2 separate regions of the Homo sapiens genome follow, and region 1 is linked to region 2. Evidence: promoter capture Hi-C in human tissues and cell types (Jung and others, 2019). All regions are on one chromosome and are shown on one strand. Each heading gives the region's core, a stretch centred on a gene start or on the middle of the fragment in contact. The rest is flanking DNA. Distances are from core to core; before and after follow the strand shown. Region 1 has its middle 33 kb from the start of FAM220A. Region 2 holds the start of OCM (oncomodulin).

Region 1 (3,529 bases), core at 794-3,293, 440 kb after region 2:
CGTTCTACTTACTGTCTCTCCGGAGCTGTCTCTTCTAGGAACCTCATGTAAGTGGAATCCTACAATATTTGTCCTTTTATGCCTGGCTTATTTCACTGTGCATGTTTGGAAGGGTGGGTTTGTTTTCTAAGTAAAAAAGCAGCTTCATGCGCTTCCCAAAAGGAAATACTCTGTTTGCTTTGAAGACAAAGCCTATAGCAGGGCGTGGTGGCGGGCGCCTGTAGTCCCAGCTACTCGGGAGGCTGAGGCAGGAGAATGGCGTGAACCTGAGAGGCGGAGCTTGCAGTGAGCCGAGACCGCGCCACTGCACTCCAGCCTGGGCGACAGAGCGAGACTCCGTCTCAAAAAAAAAAAAAAAAAGACAAAGCCTAACTCTGGACCTATGGCCGCTGGGGTTGAGGGAGGTTGACACTGCCCCGCTAAAACAGTGGGGACAGCCCTGTGGCCAGATTATTCCCAAAGACACAGAACTGGATCAGACCCACTGAGCGACCAGCAGATGTACAGAGCTGACTCAAAAAGTTAGAGGACTATTTTTTTTTCTTTTTTGAGACGTAGTCTCTCTCCGTCACCAGGCTGGAGGGCAATGGTGCGATCTCAGCTCACTGCAACCTCCGCCTCCGGGGTTCAAGTGATTCTCCTGCCTCAGCCTCCCAAGTAGCTGGGACTACAGGCGCCCGCCACCACACCCGGCTAATTTATGTATTTTAGTAGAGATGGGGTTTCACCATGTTGGCCGGGCTGGTCTCGAACTCCTGACCTCGTGATTTGTCAGCCTCGGCCTCCCAAAGTGCTGGGATTACAGGTGTGAGCCACTGTGCCTGGCCGACTATTTCTTTTTTTTTCCGAGATGGAGTCTCGCTCTGTCACCCAGGTTGGAGTGCAGTGGCACAATCTTGGCTCACTGCAAGCTCTGCCTCCCAGGTTCATGTCATTCTCCCACCTCAGCCTCGCTAGTAGCTGGTACTACAGGCGCCCACCACCACGCCTGGCTAATTTTTTTTTTTTTTGTATCGTTAGTAGAGACGGGGTTTCACCGTGTTAGCCAGGATGGTCTCGATCTCCTGACCTCGTGATATGCCCGCCTCAGCCTCCCAAAGTGCTGGGATTACAGGTGTCAGCCACCGCGCCCGGCCTTGGCCGACTATTTCTTAATGTAACTTAAATTTTGGGCAACACAGTTTTGGCTCAGATATATACTATTTATCATCAATGAATGTAAGTTTTCCAGTTAAAAAAGACAAATTTTGGTTCCGTTAAGGAATTCACTGTTCATAGACATCCATAGAAATCTTCTCTTTTTCTTCCTTTCTTCTCTCACCCTGAGAGGTTCCCTGAACAGAAGCATATCTCCTGTATTTACCAGATTTGAGCTGTTTAACAAGCGGTTACTTTTGCTAATCTTTTGGATTAGTCTTTAGGACTGCCAGAGAAACACGGCCTTAAAAAGGAAATGTTTCTGCCTTAGAACTTCTACTGAGTTGAAAATAGTCATGATCGGTTAAAAAAAATAATGCTGCATAAGCACCGAAACGATTTGTCTCAAAACTGTTCCGGAGGGCTAAAAATAACTTCCAAACAGATAACAAAACCTGGGCAAGGCCCAGTATAAGAAGCCAGACCCAGCCGGGTGTGGCAGCTCACACCTGTAATCCCAGCACTTTGGGAGGCTGAGCCAGGAGGATCTCTTGAGCTCAGGAGTTCGAGACCAGCCTGGGTAACATCATGAAACCCTGTCTCTACAAAAAACACAAAAATTAGCTGGGTGTGGTGCCATGTGCCTGTAATCCCAGCTACTCAAGAGTCTGAGGTAGGAGAACTGCTTGAGCCCAGGAGGCAGAAGTTGCAGTGGGCCAAAATCGACCCTGCCTCAAAAAAATAAATAAAATAAAACAAAATAAGCCAGAGCCAACAGATTCTCAGTTCTTGGCTTAGTTTGCTCTGGAGCCAGGATCAAAGCTGATGCAGAGACTTATTCCTATCGTTGCCAAAGTGCAACAGAGCTTTTTACAGCCTTGGGTAGGAAAGTGCTAAGATGCATGATGTCAACGTCAGGAAGTCTCGCCTGGGCAGTGTTTTCAGTTGCGGGAGGAGGACAATTCTTTTTTTTTGTTGTTTTGTTTTTTGTTTTTTTAGATGGAGTCTCGCTCTGTTGCCAGGCTGGAGTGCAGTGGCATGATCTTGGCTCACTGCACCCTCCACCTCCCAGGTTCAAGCAATTCTCCTGCCTCAGCCTCCTGAGTAGCTGGGATTACAGATGCACACCACCACACCCAGCTAATTTTTGTATTTTTAGTAGAGACGGGGTTTCACTGTGTTGGCCAGGATGGTCTCGATCTCTTGACCTAGTGATCTGCCCACCTCGGCCTCCCAAAGTGCTGGGGTTACCAGCATGAGCCACTGTGCCCGGCCATCAACACACCCACTTAATAGCAAACCCAATTAATGTGGATTTTCCCCATTTGTCATCTTAAGTAACCGGCGTTGTGCCTACACTAGAACTTACAATAAAGCCAGGCGTGGTGGCGCATGCCTGTGGTCCTGGGTACTCGGGAGGCTGAGGCAGGAGGATCCCTTGAGCCTGGGAGGTCGAGGCTTCAGTGAACTGTGATTGCACCACTGCACTCCAGCCTGGGTGCCAGACGACGACCCTGTCTAAAACATAAATGATATTTTATTTATTTTTAATAAATAAAAAATATTTATATGTTTAATAAATAAAATAATGTTTTATATATTAATATATAACATTTTAGACATTAAAATATTTTATTTATTATAAAATATAAATTTATTTTATATAATATATAAAATATAATTATTTTATTGTAAAATTAATAAATAATATTTTATTTATTTTTTAGAGACACGGTCTTGCTCTGCCGCCCAGGCTGGAGTGCAGTGGCGCAATCTCGGCTCACTGCAACCTCCGCCTCCTGGGTTCACGCCATTCTCCTGCCTCAGCCTCCCGAGTAGCTGGGACTACAGGTGCCACCACCATGCCTGGCTAATTTTTTGTATTTTTAGTGGAGACGGGGTTTCACCCTGTTAGCCAGGATGGTCTCCATCTCCTGACCTCGTGATCCGTCCACCTCGGCCTCCCAAAGTGCTGGGATTACAGACATGAGCCGCCACGCCCGGCTAATTTTTATATTTTCCGTGGAGACGGGATCTCGCCATGTTGGAGGGCATCATTATTAATATTCAAGCATGCTTTGTTTATGAAGCAGAAACACCCAAGAGCGTCCAAATCCAGCCAATCTAACCTCTTTCGCTGCATAGTGTGGAAAAGCACGCTGCGCTTCCAAATGGAAGAAAATCGCCTTAAAATGAAGGCGTTGAAGTTCTATTGTGAAGCAGGACGAGGAGTACCCTTCCCAGCTCATCTCCAGGGGACCTCACAGGCCTGGCAGGAAAACAGCCACTTCCTGCCCATGACTGTAAGATGTATTATGTCACTTGGGGAATAAGTTCCAAATCCTATTTTTGGGAAAAGAGGTAACGTTGGAGGCAGTAAGGGGGAGGCCAA
Region 2 (3,448 bases), core at 1-2,500:
TTCAGCTTACAGAGCACCCTGTATGTGTTTGTCTTAGTTCAGGCCACCATCTCCACCTTACCAGGCATCTAGAACCTTCTCCACACTTTGCCAACAGGGTTCGTTTGCAGAATTGAAATCTTAGTTAAGGTTTGTTGAAGTTTGTTGTTGTTTTTTTTTTTTTTTTACAATTGGCTGTTCCCACCCACATTCCCTTGAGACATAAATAGAAAAAAAAAAAAAAAGAGGTTTCATGAGTAAGACAAGACATTTGAGCTGCATCCACTTGATCCTTGAAAAGGAAATCTAAGAGGTTGTAACTATCACTTTTTCTAGCCTATATAAGGTAGGTCAGTAAGGTAGCAAAAACACATCTGTTGTTTTGCTCCTTCAACTCTTTTTCCTGATTCTTCCTGGGGGGAAACCGAAAACGGTGAGTAACTGGTGGACACATCAGACCCCAGACTCTTTTCTTCACTGCATGCATTCATATTAGGCTCAGGTGCTTAGACTCCTGTTTTCCGGTGGCTCTGACACCTGGAAGGATTTTAATCTCTGGGAGATGGGCTTTTCATCCATCTGCTTCCCACCTTTCAGGACAGGTGCATGCCTTCTTCCACAGAATGTCTGCAAGCAGCCCAAACTGTATCCTTTCCCACGTGGAATTTGCAACATTGCATCTCTCGGGCTGCTGTAGGAAAATGCCAGTGCATGTGTAACATGGTTTACGGCTGCCTATGCAAATGACTGATTATGTCAGTATAATTTTTATAAGAAAACAATTGAATCCTTCTTTGGGTCATTTTTTTTTTCCATTTTTGGCATGTATTCAAAAGAAGGCTCTGAGACAAAAAAGGCTGGGGTGTTTTCCGTATCTGGTTTTAATTTGGATATTCTGTCCCGTCACTTAATACAAAACCATGCTTATCACATTTTAAAAATTCTAGACAGGCCTGGCTCGGTGGCTTGCATCTGTCATCCCAGCACTTTGTGAGGCCAAGGCAGGCAGATCACCTGAGGTCAGGAGCTCAAGACCAGCCTGGCCAACATGGCAAAACCCCGTCTCTACTAAAAACACAAAAATTAGCCAGGCATGGTAGTGCGCACCTGTAATCCCAGCTACTGGGAAGGCTTAGGCAGGAGAATCACTTGAGCCCAGGAGGCGGAGGTTGCGGTGAGCCGAGATCACGCTCTTGCACTCCAGCCTGGGTGACAGAGTGAGACTCCGTCTTAATTTAAAAAAAAAAATAATCTAGACACACATACAGTTTCAGTGGGCCTGGGAAGATGTGTTTCCCCTGGATGTGCACATTCCTGTTTGTGGCTTATCGCCTCTCATTTATTCTGTGTGAGTAGGTAGAAAATGAGCATCACGGACGTGCTCAGTGCTGACGACATTGCAGCAGCGCTCCAGGAATGCCGAGGTAGAGGGGACGTGAGGCGGGGGTGGGATTTCCTCACAGCTTTGCACCTCCAGCGAGTCAACACAAAATCAAAATGTAGGCCAGGCGGCCAGACGCAGTGGCTCACACCTGTAATCCCAGCACTTTGGGAGGCCGAGGCGGGTGGATCACGAGGTCAGGAGTTCGAGACCAGCCTGGCCAAGATGGTGAAACCCCATCTCTACTAAAAATACAAAAAAATTAACCGGGCGTGGTGGTGGGTGCCTGTAATCCCAGCTACTCGGGAGGCTGAGGCAGAGAATTGCTTGAACCCGGGAGGCAGAAGTTGCAGTGAGCTGAGATCATGCCACTGCACTCCAGCCTGGGCAACAGAGCAAGACTCTGTCTACAAAAAAAAAAAAAAAAAGTAGACCAGGCATGGTGGCTCACATCTGTAATCCCAACACTTTTTGGAGGCCAAGGTGAGAGGACTGTTTGAGCCCAGGAGTTTGAGACCAGCCTGGGCAACATAGGAAGACTCCATCTCTACAACATAACAATAAAAATAAAAACTAGCGGGGCATGGTGGCATGTGCCTGTGGTCCCAGCTACTCTGGAAACTAAGGTAGGAGGATCACTGAAGCCCAGGAGGTTGAGGCTGTGGTGAGCTATGATCGCTACACTGCACTCCAGCTTGGACGACAGAGTGAGACTCTGGCTCTAAATAAATAAATAAATAAATAAATAAGAGGTTGGCTGGAAAATTCATGGAATCAGAGAAGAAAACTGCTATTTATTAGATAACTAAAATTATAGAGATCTGGGATCTGAGCACACGATTACACATCTGTAAGACAAAAGAAACCTACTAAACATGAAAGCAAGACATCACTGAAAGGCCAGGTGTCGTGCTCACACCTGTAATCCCAACACTTTGGGAGGCCGAGGCCGGTGCATCACTTGAGGTCAGGAGTTCAAGACCAACCTGGCCAGCATGGCAAAACCCTGTCTCTATTAAAAATACAAAAATGAGCTGGGCATGGGGGTGCACACCTGTAATCTCAGCTACTTGGGAGGCTGAAGCAGGAGAATCAGTTGAACCCGGGAGGCAGAGGTTGCAGTGAGCCGAGATCACGCCACTGCACTCCAGCCTGGTGACAGAGTGAGACTCTGTCTCAAAAAAAAAAAAAAAAAAAAAAAAAAAAAAAAAAGCGCCAAAGGCCATTTAGCCTGTTGAAATCCAGTGATTGCATTTCCCCCTACCAATTAGACCAGGGATGCTGGGGGCTCAGCCACACAGCCTGTAAAGTGGGCCAGGGGGAGGGGGAGGCACAGAAGAGATGAGGAGGGAAAAGGAAAATGGACAAAACCAAGTGGAGGAGGGAAGACTGGGGCGGAGGGGACATGGGATGCCATCACAGAGCCATCAAGTCTTGGCTGTCCCAAAATCTTGGACCAGTTGAGCATCCCCGTAGCTCAGGGATATTGTTGAAGTGTTTTTAATTATCTGTGTTTTTAGTACCTTGGCCCCAACATAGAATGTGATCCAACAAGCGTCAGAATAACCAATTCTCTGTTCTTCAGACCCAGACACTTTTGAACCCCAAAAATTCTTCCAGACATCAGGCCTCTCCAAGATGTCAGCCAATCAGGTGAAGGATGTTTTCCGGTTCATAGACAACGACCAGAGCGGGTACCTGGATGAAGAAGAGCTTAAGTAAGCTTTGTCCTGAGTCTGTCTGGTACCCGGCACTGCTGAGTGGGCCTGGGGTGCAGTGGGGGCCAGGTTGCTCAGTATTTCTTCAATGGCCAGCCTTGGTGTTGGTCATTCGGCCAAGCATCATTAAAGCAAAGGACATGAGTCAGTTGACCGCACATCTACCCATGCAAAGCCCTCAATATGGGCAGAGAAGACTGCAGGTGCAAAGATTCTTTTTTTTTTTTTTTTTTTTGAGACAGGGCCTCACTCTGTTGCCCAGGCTGGAGTGCAGTGGGGTGATCTCAGCTCCCTGCAGCCTCCGCCTTCCAAATTCAAGTGATTCTCATGCCTCAGTCTCCCAAGTGGCTGGGATTACAGGTGCCTGCCA

The links. The method cuts DNA at HindIII sites, captures the fragments that hold promoters and counts their contacts. A contact is called where the count stands out against the background at its distance.
Region 1: a fragment that was not itself captured here is called in contact with the fragment with the promoter of OCM in region 2 in 1 of the 25 tissues and cell types used here (psoas muscle).

What each region holds. Positions count from the first base shown.
Region 1 is chr7:6,314,439-6,317,967 of GRCh38, forward strand. No RefSeq gene overlaps it. Among named protein-coding and RNA genes, the nearest start is that of FAM220A, 33 kb to the right of the region's middle. The HindIII fragment of the contact is 4,452 bases long and covers 1-3,529 here.
Region 2 is chr7:5,879,548-5,882,995 of GRCh38, forward strand. It overlaps OCM (oncomodulin), which reads left to right and starts at 1,251. Exons shown (of 4, transcript NM_001097622.2): 1 at 1,251-1,403; 2 at 2,946-3,078. The coding sequence starts at 1,343. The HindIII fragment of the contact is 18,194 bases long and covers 1-3,448 here.